Regions from separate parts of the Homo sapiens genome. Here region 2 is linked to region 1. The links are contacts of gene promoters, found by promoter capture Hi-C in blood cells and fetal thymus (Javierre and others, 2016). All regions are on one chromosome and are shown on one strand. The core of a region is centred on a gene start or on the middle of the fragment in contact, and the rest is flanking DNA. Distances in the headings are between cores, read along the strand shown.

Evidence for each region. Contacts are between HindIII fragments. The CHiCAGO score rates a contact against its expected background, and 5 or more counts as called.
Region 2: a contact is called between a fragment that was not itself captured here and the fragment with the promoter of ACP3 in region 1, in 1 of 17 cell types (neutrophils). The highest score is 6.0, in neutrophils.

The regions. Positions count from the first base shown.
Region 1 is chr3:132,314,947-132,322,192 of GRCh38, reverse strand. ACP3 (acid phosphatase 3) reads right to left here and starts at 4,786. Exons shown (of 10, transcript NM_001099.5): 1 at 4,617-4,786. The coding sequence starts at 4,736. The HindIII fragment of the contact is 19,921 bases long and covers 1-7,246 here.
Region 2 is chr3:132,235,330-132,242,452 of GRCh38, reverse strand. No RefSeq gene overlaps it. Among named protein-coding and RNA genes, the nearest start is that of TRC-GCA9-1, 7.0 kb to the right of the region's middle. The HindIII fragment of the contact is 1,716 bases long and covers 2,597-4,312 here.

The DNA.
Region 1 (7,246 bases), core at 3,537-6,036:
GTGTAGAAGATGTGTGATATATCAGAAAAGGTCTGGGTTTTCAGTTGGTTAGACCTGGGTTCAAACTCCTGCTTTGTCAAGGTCCTGCTGGGTGACCTTGGGAAAATGATTTAACTTAACATTCTGCATGCCTCAATTTCCCTTTCCTTTCCTCAATTTCCTTTCGTGTAAAACACAAAAGCATTATTTCTCATCCAGGAGCATCATGAAAATTAAATGTGTAATATATGTAAAGCCATCAGTATAATACCGAGCACACCGGATGCATTTGATATGTGGGATTTATTATTATATTTGTTATAATTATTTTTGTTGTTATATTATTCAGACATTTAGCTTAGCTAACATATATACTTCCTTTCCTGCTGACAATAATTTGCAGCATATAGGGCAAATGAGCACTACCTATTGAGCAATGGGAAACAGCACTCTCCTTCGAGACATACCTCTGTTAATTTCTAATCATCTCTCCCTACTTTTATTTCCTTGGCTGAGAGGAATAATTAATTATTCCTTTGCATTTAGGATACTGAGAAGCACCCACAGGAATAACCTGGTTGGCTGAAATGTCTTGGCCAAATGCACCCTGAAAATTTGTGAAATGCATTGGCATAAATCTGGGGAGAAGCTCATGTAAGCAAACTGAACTGAGCCTGGCTCAGTACCAACTCTCAGCGCACGGTGCTGTTTCCGGCAAATGTCTTTGAAAAACCTGTGGTCTCCAGACAGCTTGGCTGTTCCTTGGATACAGTGATTAGGAGCCATACAGCAAGGGAGAGAGATTGTATGTAAGGTTGTTTGTGAACTGAGGCAGGAGACCTGATTTTTGCTTTTCAGTGGAATTTTATCTGGTCCATCTTTTTTTTTTTTCTTTTTTGCAGAGATGAGGTCTTACTATGTTAACCAGCCTGGAGTCTTGCACTCCTGGCCTCAAGCAATCCTTCTGTTTCGGCTTTCCAAAGTGCTGGGATTACAGGTGTGAGTTGCTGCACCCAGCCTCTGGTACCTCTTTTTATAAGCCAACCCAAGCGACAGGGTTTTTCCCTGTTGTCCAGGCTGGAGTGCAATGGTGTGATCCTAGCTCAATGTGGCCTCACACTGCTGTGCTCAAGTGATCCTCTAGCTCCACCTTCCCTAGTAGCTAGGAGGTCCTTCATGTCCATAATGTGGAAGTTACCCATTCCAGTATATAGATTATGTGCTGAGAATTTGGAGGCTGCTTCCATCAAGAATATCATATTATGCCAGGCGCAGTGGCTCACGCCTGTAATCTCAGCCCTTTGGGAGGCCAAGGCTGGTGGATCACCTGAGGTCAAGAGTTCAAGACCAGCCTGGCCAACGTGGTGAAACCCAGTCTCTATTAAAAATACAAAAACTAGCCAGGCATGGTGGCACACGCCTGTAATCCCAGCTACTTGGGAGGCTGAGACTGGAGAATCACTTGAACCTGGGAGACGGAGGTTGCAGTGAGCCAAGATCACGCCATTGCACTCCAGCCTGGGCGACAGAGTAAGACTCTGTCTCAAAAAAAAAAAAAAAACCCAAGAATATTATATTACTTGATTAAGAATTCTGCATGAAGAAAGTCAACCATGAAGAATGAGAAGAGTGTATACCTTGTAAGTCATCATTCCTTTCTTAACACCGGTGAAATGAGATGGAATTTTTCTGTCTTGGATCAGCTGAACTTGTGGGTTTTCTCTGGGTTAGGGGAGACAGGATGCTTTAAAATGACATTTTTCTATTTCTGGATGATATGGTGCATGAAATAACTTAAAAAACTCAAGTGGGTGTGTGTGGGAAATGAGTGGCTATGCAGATGAAACAAGATTGCATGGGTGATAGTCTTTGAAGCTGGTTGATGAGGACATCCAGATTCACCATATTTACGATTCTTTCCATATAAAGTTAAAAATGTCAGTTCTCTCAGTGTTTTCTACAGGACATTGGGGAAAAAAAGAGGGAGGTGAATGCTGTAATCAAAATTTTGAAAACAGAGTTTGGAAAACACTAGATCCTTTCCTTGAAAGCCACAGTGCGTATTAGCATGTTAAAGACTTAGGATTACTGCATTAAAGAGACCTTTTAAACACAGTTTAACCCAGTTCTATTCCCAAAGCTAACTTGACTATTGAAACTGATTTTTTCCCCATGTACACCTGTTAACAACTTGTCAAACTAGCATTTCATGGGTCACAGGCACTTCAGTTAGTCCGAGAACAAGAACCAAGGACAGTTTCCTCCTCTTTCTGCTGAGAACAGCTTTTCAGAATTGGGGAGGATTTATTTTTCTCGGATCACAGAGGAAAAGCAAGGGAACCACCTGCTGATTCAGAGTCAAGCTAATCCAGCAAACCTTACAGGGGGATCTCAGACTAGCTCCATGTGCTGGGTTATATACACACAGCAGGAAAAGACCATGTCTAGTGATAAAGGGAAAGGCATCCGGGGTCAGAGAGCCTGGGTTCAAATTCTGTCTCCACCATTCCATCTGTGTGACCATGGGCAAGATGCTTAACCTTTTTGTGCCTCAATTTCTTCATCTATAAAATAGGAATAATAAGTTTTACAAAACTTTATAGAATGGTTGCCAGATTTGGCAAATAAACATACAGGATGCCCAAATATTGCATGGGACTAAAAAATTATTTGCTATTTATCTGAAGTTCAAATTCAAATGGTCATCCCATATTTTATTTAACGACCTTATTTTAGAGGATTGTTGACAGGCTTATGTGATACAATTCATATTGAACACTCAGAACAGTGCCTTGTAAGCACTCAATTGCAGTAAGTACTTGCAGTAAGCACTCAATTGACTATTGGTTATTATCATTAATATTACCACTTTAGTTATGGGCATCTTTTAAAACAATTCTGGTTCTCCTAATAATTTTCTAAGAGTTATCTCATTTGTATAAATTAACCACTTATAGTCAAATATTCTCTTTAGTCAATAAAAATAAGAAACTGATGTTTATTGGCTTAAGTACTTAGATGGACGTTGTTTTATAAGGGCCAAGAAAGATGTATTAAATGGCCCTTCATCTACCATTAATGGAAGGAAATCATGGTAGGAAAAAATAGTTAACACTGGCTTTGTGCAATATTTGTTAATTTTTTTAGTTCTAAGAGAGCTAGCTTTGTATTTTGGCTTTCCTCAGGAAAGAATTAACTTGCAGTCCCTGAATATAGGAAACCCACAACAATTTGGTAGTCAAAGGAAGTTAGCCTGGGCTAACTTGGGTAAAACATGGAGGAGGGAATACATCATGTACAGTGAGCTTGGAGTAACTTGGATTTCTCAGAGGACTGCCACTCAACCAGCTTGTCACAGGTTTACAGTATTACAAGCACGGCAGATGCAGTACAATTTCTACAGTCCCTAAACTTGCCTCATGCACATGTTAGCAAGAAAACTACTGATAGAAGTACAAGCCTAGCTCACATGGGTTTCCCTAAAGAAGGCACACAGTATTATATATTTTTTTTCTGCACAGAAGTCTGACAGCTGGTGAATCATTTGTAAATAAATTGATAGTTTGTTTCACTGGGTTTTCTGTCATTGTTGACTCATGACCTAGTAAGGATTTACTGGACTATAAGAATAATGATTCAAATAAGCACATGGGTATCATATTTTCTGTAGAAAGTAAAGAGCTTTGAATATCCCATGCTGAAAAAAAAAAAAGCCTGAACTTTAATTTTTAAGGAAACAGTGACTTTCCTTCAAATTATAAAAATAATTTTTGAGTATTCTTGACAGAAAGAAAATTTACCTACTTATCAGCCCACTTTCACTATCTCAAATAAAAAAATGTAGGGAAGAGAAAGAAAACGAGAGAGGAAAGGCAAGAAGCAGCTTAGAGGCTTAGAGGCAGAGAAAGAGTGAAACAGAAGGAAAAAAAGATACAGAAACAGAAAATCAGACTCTTAGGTAACATGATGAATCCCCTTCACTTTGCAAACCCTCTTTCCATCTATTTTCAAACAATGTCAACAGTATATTTTCTTTTCTTGATATTATGCATCAGCCACCCCCCACCTTTTTTCATAACTGGTCACATGTGCCAATGATTTTAATCGTCAACTAAATCTATATATCAGAAAATCATCCTAAAATTCCAAATTTAGATTCACTTTTATGCTTCAAGGTTGTTTACAAATAGTTGTTCTAATTTCCTGATAAACAAAGGTGAAAGGACTACTTAATTCAGAAAATGACTGTTTTTTGGCTTGCAAACAAATAATGATTAAATTGAATGAAGCCAGCTCTTGGTACATAAACAGCGCCAGCTGTGGTTTCTTCTGGACTGGTGTGGCTGTCAAAAGGAATCTGAATTCAAGGCAGTTGTAAAGTAAGTAAATAAATAACATCAGCAAAAGCAAATAAAAAGCAACCCCTAAAAAAACAGCGACCAAAAAATATTTTTGTTAGGACACGTTAGGTCTTCATTAAGAGGAACTTGCAAAACTTGATTATTCACTTTCTGAGTTTGAACAGAGCCTGGTCTCTGGGAAACAATCCAAGGATAAGATGAAACCTGACGCTTGCCTTATCAGACTTTGCTGGGAACACAGTTTTAAGGAAAAAGCAATGAGAAAAGTCTACTTACCAAAGTCACAAACTTCAACTCCTTGGCTAGTACACTTCGGTCTAGCCAGAAAAAAAGCAGAAACAAGAAGCCAAGGCTAAGGCTTGCTGCCCTGGCCAGGAGGAGGGGTGCAGCTCTCATGTTGAGGAGAGCTGTTTCTGGCAGGAGTTAGGAGGAACTGCTACCACTTCAAAAGCCTGTAGAGGGGAAGCTATTTAATTAAGGGATTGAAAGGGAAGGAGGAGCCACACTCATAAGTAGTAAAGTTTCCAGGAAGCGTAGGGCAGGTTTGGTATGTAAATAATGTCATGTAAATTTTGAGCTGAGAGAGATCACAGTTTCCCCATTTAAGTTAGGACACCAAGGCCAAGAGCGGGGAAAGCTGTTGATCAAGGTCACAGAGCATGTTAGCAGACATTTCTATCCTTGTTTTCAGTTTACTTTTATCTTTGTTTTTTGTTTTTTTTTTTTTGAGACAGAGTCTTGCTCTGTCATCCAGGCTGGAGCACAGTGGCACAATCTCAGCTCACTGCAAACTCCGCCTCCCAGGTTCAAGCAATTCTCCTGCTTCAGTCTTCCTGAGTAGCTGGGATTACAGGCGTGCACCACCACACCCGGCGAATTTTTGTATTTTTAGTAGAGACGGGGTTTCACCATGTTGGTTAGGCTGGTCTCCAACTCCTAACCGCATGATCCGCCTGCCTTGGCCTCCCAAAGTGCTGAGATTACAGGCATGAGCCACTGTGCCAAGCCAGTTTACTTTTATCTTTTCTTTAGATAGGGTATGATACAGCGTTGGATTTGTGGCTGTCACTTGGGAAAGGGATCTACCCTGACTTTAGAAACCTTAGACCAGTGATTCTTAATCTGTTGGGAGTCCAAAGTTATAGGACTGAAATCTGGAAGGAAATACAGGTGTTGACATATTTGGGGCCTATTTCCATGCCAAACATGGCTACTTTTTCAAAAACTCTCATGTAGCCTATAGAGGTATTTTTAAATTAAAGAAGAAAAGTAACAGCAAGTTTATTTTGAAAAATTTTAGGCTGGGCGTGGTGGCTCATGTCTGTAATCCCAGCACTTTGGGAGGCCGAGGTGGGCAGATCACTTGAGGTCAGGAGTTAAGACCAGCCTGGCCAGCATGGTGAAACCCCATCTCTACTAAAAATACAAAAAAAAAAAATTAGCCTGGCGTGGTGGCACATGCCTATAGTCCCAGCTACCTGGGAGGCGAGGCAGGAGAGTCACTTGAACCCAGGAGGTGGAGGTTGCAGTGAGCCGAGATTGTGCCACTGCACTCCAGCCTGAGTGACAGAGCAAGACTCCATCTCAAAACACAGCAAAACAAACAAACAACAACAAAAAACAAACAAAAGAAAAATTTTAGTCACACCTTAAGACAATTGGACATTACCTGTGGTATCTCAAAATTAGATTGGAGGTCCCTTTCCAAACCTGACAGAGTTTTTTAAGAAAGCAAAAAGCCCAAACCTACAATTCTATATTATTAGTCATCAACTTTGGCCATAAGCCTTAAATTTTGAGTGAGTTACATCCTTGCCTCTCCAGCTATGATCTCACTGGGGACACTACAAAAGGCGATCCAGACTGATGGAACTTTGCTTTCCATTTTCCCCAACCTGTCAGTTCCATCATAGGCTAAAACAATACAAACTTGAGGTGCACATTGAGATTTTGCAAGATTTGGGGGCAGAGCTGCCTGTCATGATATTTCTATCATAATGGCAGAGGGAGAACAATGGTTTACCCGCAACCTGTTTCCTGGTACATTGCGCTTACCTGTGGCAGGAGGATTGTGTTCTTATGTGATCATAGGATGCCCTGGAATGTGGTATATGGGAGAACTGTTCCTTCTTCCGGCAGTAGGAAACATGCGCAAATAGGCTGGGCATGGTGGCTCACGCCTGTAATCCCACCACTTTGGGAGGCTGAGGTGGGCAGATCACTTGAGATCAGGAGTTCGAGACCAGCCTGGTCAATGTGGTGAAACCCCATATCTACTAAAAATACAAAAATTAGCCAGGTGTGGTGGTGGGAGCCTGTAATCCCAGCTACCTGGGAGGCTGGGGCAGGAGAATCACTTGAATCCGGGAGGCTGAGGTTGCAGTGAGCTGAGATCACACCACTGCACTCTAGCCTGGGCAATAGAGTGAGACTCTGTCCCCCCTCCAAAAAAAAAAAAAAATGTGCAAATAATAAATGCATGTGTGATTAGGATTAACCATTCAAGGGAACTTGCAACTTTCTCTTTGCCATCACATTCTCGACCTGCCAGTCTACACTGTCAATTTTAATGAGTAAGATTTTGAGGAAATGGGTGCAAGAAAAAGGAAATAAAAATTGGGAGGTTTTCCAGTCCAGGGCATACATGAAGTTGATACATTAATCCCTGCTGTGTGCACCAGGCAATCTGAGAAAGGAAGCTCCAGCACCTATGTACCATTCACAGGCAAATTTCTGAACCACATTTCTTAAATTGTGCCAGATGTCTGCTTCTATTGAATGCCTTATTTTCTCAGCTATCTGCCTGGGTCCTTGTTCTATCTCCTTCCTTGTCTCACCCTTGGACTGGTGCTTGGAACTATTTCAGCAATAGCCTTAGACCTTCCTGATAATGAAGACTGATTTTA
Region 2 (7,123 bases), core at 2,205-4,704, 78 kb after region 1:
CAACCATGTCAAATTGAAGAATCAGTTCTCAGCTGTAGGATCCACCATCTGTTGATTTCCATTTTTTCTTCCTGATCTCACCACCCACTGTCTGGGATGCCACATTGCCCTTCACAGATGCTTTGCCACCTGATTCTAAGATGTGACATCCAAGATCTCCAGCCAGAAAAGGAGTTGCTGCCACATCTTGTATGAACTAGCAATCAAGTGGCTATTTCGTCCAGCCCATTAGCCCTCCACCCACCCCCTTGGTCTTTCACTTGGCATTACTTTCAGTATCTTGAGGATTATTGTAGTACTGTGTAACACATGGCCTTTCAGTAAGAAAAGCGTTGATGGCATTGCCTGGCAGAAGGAAGTAGAGAGCAGAGGCTTAGGGGCTGTGTGCCAGATGGCATTTTGGGAGAAGGAGAACATCTCACTTCTTTGAAGGCTTGAGATCTCAGGTCCAAAGGAGACTGAGTGTGTGGGAGGAGTGGTAGCTACTGACCAGGAAGTTGTTGCTGGCTGCACTTCCCTCCTGATAGGGAATCCTGGATTGCCTACAGAGGGGTCTGAGGCAATTGTATCTGGTTTGGGGTTCTACCAAGTGAAGCTGGAGATTTGTAAAAGCTTGTCATCTATTGATCGTTGGTCCTTGTACTATACCAATGTGGAGATGGAGACATAGTGCAATTTGCTTAGATTTAGGTGCCAAAAAAAAAAAAAAAATCAGACGTCTCAGGCTCATCTCAACAGATTATATTGCCAAGTGTCAAGTATTAGACTATGACTTCATTCTCCTTATTTACTGCCTAATTATAGTCATGTTGTGCACCACTGTGTTTGTACTATTTTGAGATTCAGCTATAAGGCAGTGCAGTTTATCATAGCAAATCAAAGCAGGTGAGAGGAAGGACAGGGTTTGGGTGTAGCCTAGTGTGTTTGATGGTGGTGAGGCATAGTCAGCAAGACAGAAAAGGAACAGGACCCAAGGGCACTGCAATCTCTCATCCTGGTTGAGGCATGAGATGGGAGAATCCCCCAACAGGTACAGCAATGATGGTAAATACAGGCAGATAGTTCCAGCTAGGGCTGGAAAGATCTAAAGACTTGTTCACTCACACATCTTGTTGGACCTTAGTTGGGGCTGTTGGTCTGAATACCTACATAGAGACTGGTGATAGTGGGACATCAGCCTCAGGTGTTCAGATTTTCCATGTGGCAGCTTGGACTTCCTCATAGCATGGTGGCTGGGATCCAAGAGCTAGGATCCCAGGAGAAGGAGGTAGAAGCTGCACGTCCTTTTCAGACCTAGCCTCAGAAGTCACACAGCATTACTTTTGCCATAGCCTGTTGGTGTAGAAGTCCTAAGCCGCTGGCCAGAATCAAATGGAGGAAACATGGACATTACTTTTCAATGAGAAAAACATTAAAGAAATTTGGGGCCATATGTTAAAACACAATCTGTCCTATGACCACAATTGTTTACTTTCCTCCCAAATGCAACATATATTCACTCCACCAAAGATTCTAGAACAATCTCATTCCATTATTAAATCAGGCTCAGACTCGAGGTCCACATGCAATTGAGGCTCCTGCAGTGTGGTTCCTCAAGTCCATCTTCCTGAGTACCATCCTTCTCAATCTGAAAACCTGTAAATTAAAGAGACTGATGATCTGTCCTACAGTGGTGGAACAGGAATAGGATAACTGCAGTAGATACTCCCATTCAGAAAGTGAGAAAGTAGGAGGCACACAGCAGCCACTGGTTCACAGCAATTCTGAAATCTCCAAGGCACATGTGGCTAATTCCTTTATTAGGGCTTACTTTGCTCTTATACTTATTATCTGAGAATGATCTCCCATGGTTCTTATCTCTGCCCTCTAGGCTCTGAGTTACTCTTCCTTGTCCTTGAGAAATGGACCCATAGGTAATGCTAGGAGATTTGAGAAGAGAGGAAGCTAGTACCTGGCTCACTTGTTCATAGGAAGCAGAGCTCTGGATCCTGGATTTGGTTCTGGAGCAGGGATCTGGCAGTCCCTGGGCATAGAGACTGGTGATAATGAAACATACGGACCTGGTTCTTATAGTAGGGAGTAGACAGACATTAATGTCTCAGGCCCCTTACACAAAATGAGGGACTGGGCTTAGGTATTCTTTAGCTCAGGTAGGGTAGAGGACCCAGATAAATAAGGGAGTTTTCCTATAAGGAAAAGATTAAAACTATTTCAGTCCATGGGAGCTTGGTCAAATTGACAAAAAATATGCTTAGTTTTTTTTTTTCTGGAGCCAAATTCACTTCCTAGAAGTAAATCCGGGCCCTTTGAGAGCTGAATTGCTTTCAGCAACATTAATATAATACATTAATTTGCTATTCCTAGGTGATATCATGAAGGAGTTTTAAATTGAGGTAGTTTTCCTGCAGAGCTGCTAGAATATTTTAATTATTTCCTTATGGTATATATTTCGCTTACTTCCAAGTGGGATTGAGGCAGTATACATCTAAAAAGATTATCAAAACAAAAATAAAGGATCAGAAACTATATAAATAAGTGTGCTAAGACTTAGGGTTAATTTAGTAACAATGACTGAATATTAAATGTGCTCTAAGCTTCATTCCAGAACATACTTTCATACAGCTGTGTCTATGTTTGGTATGTCTTTGAATATGCATAAGAGTCTAAGTATTTGCTTCTGGAAATATTTACTTCCAACTTCTTTAAAGATAAAGCATCTCATTTATTTAGAATGGAATGTTTGAAGTTGGAGGAGTCTTTAGAGATCATCAACTCCAGCTTCTTCTCTCTGCAGCTGAAGGCTGGAGGATCCAGAGAGATTCAGGGGCTTGCCCAAAGGTCATACTGATTGATCAGAGTTGAAGTTGACTTCATAGCCCAGTGTTCTTTCCTCTGCACCATAAAGGAGCAATTCTTTTTTTTTTTTTTTTTGAGACAGAGTTTCACTCTTGTTGCCCGGGCTGGAGTGCAATGGTGCAATCTCGGCTCACCGCAACCTCCGCCTCCTGGGTTCAAGCAATTCTCTTGCCTCAGCCTCCCAAGTAGCTGGGACTACAGGCATGCACCACCACACCTGGCTAATTTTGTATTTTTACTAGAGATTGTGTTTCTCCATGTTGGCCAGGCTGGTCTTGAACTCCCGACCTCAGGTGATCCGCCCACTTCGGCCTCCCAAAGTGCTGGTATTATAGGTGTGAGCCACCGTGCCCAGCCCATAAAGGAGCAATTCTTAGAGCTGAAGTTTTCAGAGTCCACTGTTAATTAATAATTTAATGAGAAAGGAAAAACTATATGTTTGCAATAAAAAAATATGATTTGATATACACAGATCTGATTTTAGATATGAAGTGGCTCTAAACACACATGAACCAGCAGGCTCATGGCTGGACAGTGGTAAATACAGGGAGACAGCAGAGTAGAGACAGGGTTAAGGGTAAGACTGTGAAGAGAGACCCCTGAGGGAGGCCAGAAGTTGTCCTCCTGGTCTCTGCTCACAGTGAGGCTCCAGAGAAGGTGAGAAGTCAAGTCTGGATGCCACTACTCTCCTCTTCAGCCATACAGTGAAGTGAAAGCCATTACAAGTAGGATTTGGTCAAATCAAAGAATTTCAGTCTTGCATGTCATTTTCTGACTTCCAAGGAGTTAGAATTCAATCAGAGAAGCAGAACCATATAAGTGATATAAAATATTTATTATAGGGATGAGATCTCACGCAATTGTGGGACCTTGGTGAGTGTATAGGTAAGTCTGTTGCTCCTGTGTCTAGTGCTGGGCCTGAAGTCAGCAAGGCCAGCAGTCTGGAAAGGAAGATCAATATGAAGTGGGGGAGAGAAAGGATAAATTGGAACCCACATCAGTCTCTCAATGCCTCCAAACCCTCCAACTCCAACAATGTTGGGATTTGCAGAATGGCTGACTCATTTCACCCCAAAGCTGTTCACAAACTTGGCCCAGGATTCAGAGAAGCTAAAGAGAAGATCCAGTAGGAGGTGGAGGAACTACGTGCTTGCAGCTGCCCTGATGGACAAAGTGAGCCACAAGATCAGTGACTATGGGCAGAATGCAACAGCACCTGCTTCTACACCTCCATCTCATTTTAAACATGCTGCTGCTTCACTTCCACCTTCACATGTGCACATTTTCTTGTGGGCAACTCTGATAGACAACCATGCAGAGAAGGGAATTTCGGGAGATGTATTTCCAGCTTAGCTAAGTTGATTTCATATAAGCCACCACATCCATGAATTAAATTACTCTCCTTATTCTCCCAATAATCTTATATTCAGTGCACTAGCCAAAGGGTTGGTAAGCTTGCTATTTTTTTAATTCTTAGGAAAGCTTAGAGAGGGAGAGTACATGAGAAAAAAAGACATTTCATGAAACAAATTAGCAGAAGCATTCATGGAGGGACACACTGATCTCACTGATATGGTGGTCACACAGTAACTTTTAAGGAACAAATCTTTCTCATAAAACAAGGCACATCTCTACCTGAAATTGTAACTGCTGGACTAGAACAAAGTAATCTGAGCAGCTTGAATGTACCTTGTAAAAGGGCTTTTGTTTCATTTAGAAAATAACTTGAACCCTGGGAAAATCTGGATCAAGTTGAGAGAGAGAAAGAAAGAGGAAGTGGAAGAGAGAAGAGAGAGAGAATGAGTTTGAGAGTGAATTTTAGAGTAAAACATAGCACATTGTATGACCTCCAGGCTATAATAGAGTGTATATAAAGCATATATATAAAGCATATATAAAAGCCCCTGAAGGCTTATGAGAGGTAAACTGCAAAGCATTGACTAAATATATCATTTGGCCAATTTTCCCATGACAATTTAGTTTGGTGCCCTTTGACTGGGACGTTCTGTTTTTTTTTTCCCTTTAAAAAAAATAAAATAAAACTAACATGTACCTCTCACCTGGCTGAAGGCTTAACAAAAACTTGAAAGACTTCCCTAGACTACAGTGCCAACAGAGTGGGAAATCTGGGCACAGGGCCTAAATTCAGATGCTACTTCTCCAAGACCAGAAAAATAGACTAATATTATTAGCTGCATTTTGTTTTGATGTTAAGTGAATAATGAAAAGGGCTAAAGGACACCATGACTATCTGGGAAACAAAGAATGCCAGGTGGTGGTATGCCCTGTTGCAGGCAGAGGGAGGCATTTGAGTTTGCTATTGAGTTAAAGGAAGAATTTGTCTCGGTCTGTGAATCAGGCGCAATCTGTTCACTAAGTTAGAGGTTGCAGAGTATCTTACCCTCAAGTGAGATAACATGTGCCTGTGCTTGTCATTTCCACAATAGGCATGCAGCTGCTTTCTTGAGATGGTTTACTTCATTACACAATTTCTTTCTAATATTAGACCATAGGTTTTTCTTTATTGTGGTAAAACATTATATAGCATTAAATTTACCATATTAGCCATTTTTAAGTATATAGTTCAATAGCATTAAGTACATTCACATCATTGTGCAACACAGTTCTAGAACTTTTTGTCTTGCAAAACTGAAACTCTATACCAACTAAACATTAATTTTTGCCTCTCCAACCCCCTAGCCCTTGGCAACCACATTTCTACTTTCTGTTTCTATGGTTTTGACGCTTAAGATACTTCATATGGTTAGACTCCTACAATATTTATCCTTCTGCAACTGGCTTATTTCACTTGGCATAACTTGAAGTTCACCCATGATGAGGCATGGGATAGAATTTCCTTATTTTTAAAGGCTGAGTAATATTCCATTGTGAATATACTCCACATTTTCTTTACTCATTAATCTGTTGATGAACATTTGGGTGGCTTCCACCTCTTGGCTCTGTGAATAATGCTGCGATGAACATAGATATGCAACTACCTCTAAAGATCCTGCTTTGAATTCCTTTGGATGATACCTACAAGTGGAATTGTTGGATCATATGGTAATTTTATTTTTAATTTTTTGAGAAACCTCCATGTTATCTTCCATAATAACTGCACATTCTCACCAACAGTACACAGGAGTTTCAATTTCTCCACATCCTTAACAATCTTTGTTATTTTGTTCTTTTGATAGTGGTTATTCTAACGGGTGTGAGGTGATGTCTCATTGTGGTTTCAATTTGCATTTACTTATAATTAGGGATGTTGATCATATTTTCATAGGACAAAGGCATTTATAAGAACAAATATTTTGTGCAAAATAATATGGGGAAAAATTAAGGTAGTAAGGTTGAGGGTGAATCTTGTGGCCATGGTAAGAACATATTTTCTTTTTAATGTGGGATTGTATTTGAAAACTCTCACACAGTTTAATCATTTTGTTCTGCCATTATTTGGCCATCCTTGTACTTTCTGACTCGGTCCTCCATGAGAAGGTAACATCTGAATTTGTGAGTCATTAATTGTCAGGATTAGAAATAATTTAGTAGATCTTCTAATTGTAACATCCACATTTTACAGTTGAGTAAACTTTGGATTAAAAAGTGAAAAAAATTCAATTGAGAGCAATATCTTGATATAAGGGGAAAATCCTTCTGATTACTGAGAATTTTAATTTTTTTCCTGGCTTCATTGAGGTATAATTGACAAATAAAATTGTATATATTTAAGATATACAATGTTATAATTTTATATACATATACATTGTGAAATGATTATTACAATCAAGTTAGTTAACACTTCCATTACCTTACATAGTTACCATTTTTAAAAATGGTGAGAACCTTTAAGGTTTACTTTCTAAGCAAATTTCAAGTATACAATACAGCATTTATTATTACCTATAGACACAATGCTGTACATTAGATCCAAAGAACTTATTCATGTTATAATGGAAAGTTTTTAACCATTTGACCAACATCACCCTATTTCTCCCACCACTAAGCACCCAGCAACCACCATCCTACTCCACAACTACAAGTTCGATTGTTTTTTAGATTCCTCACATAAGTGAGATCATATAGTATTTCTCTTTCTCTGTCCAACTTTTTCACTTAGCATGATGCCCTCAAGTTGCACCCATGTTATCACAAATGACAAGATTTCCTTCTTTTTTATAGCTGAATAATATTCCATTGTGTTTGTGTATATGTGTGTATATATATGTGTATGTGTATATATGTATATATGTGTGTATATATGTAT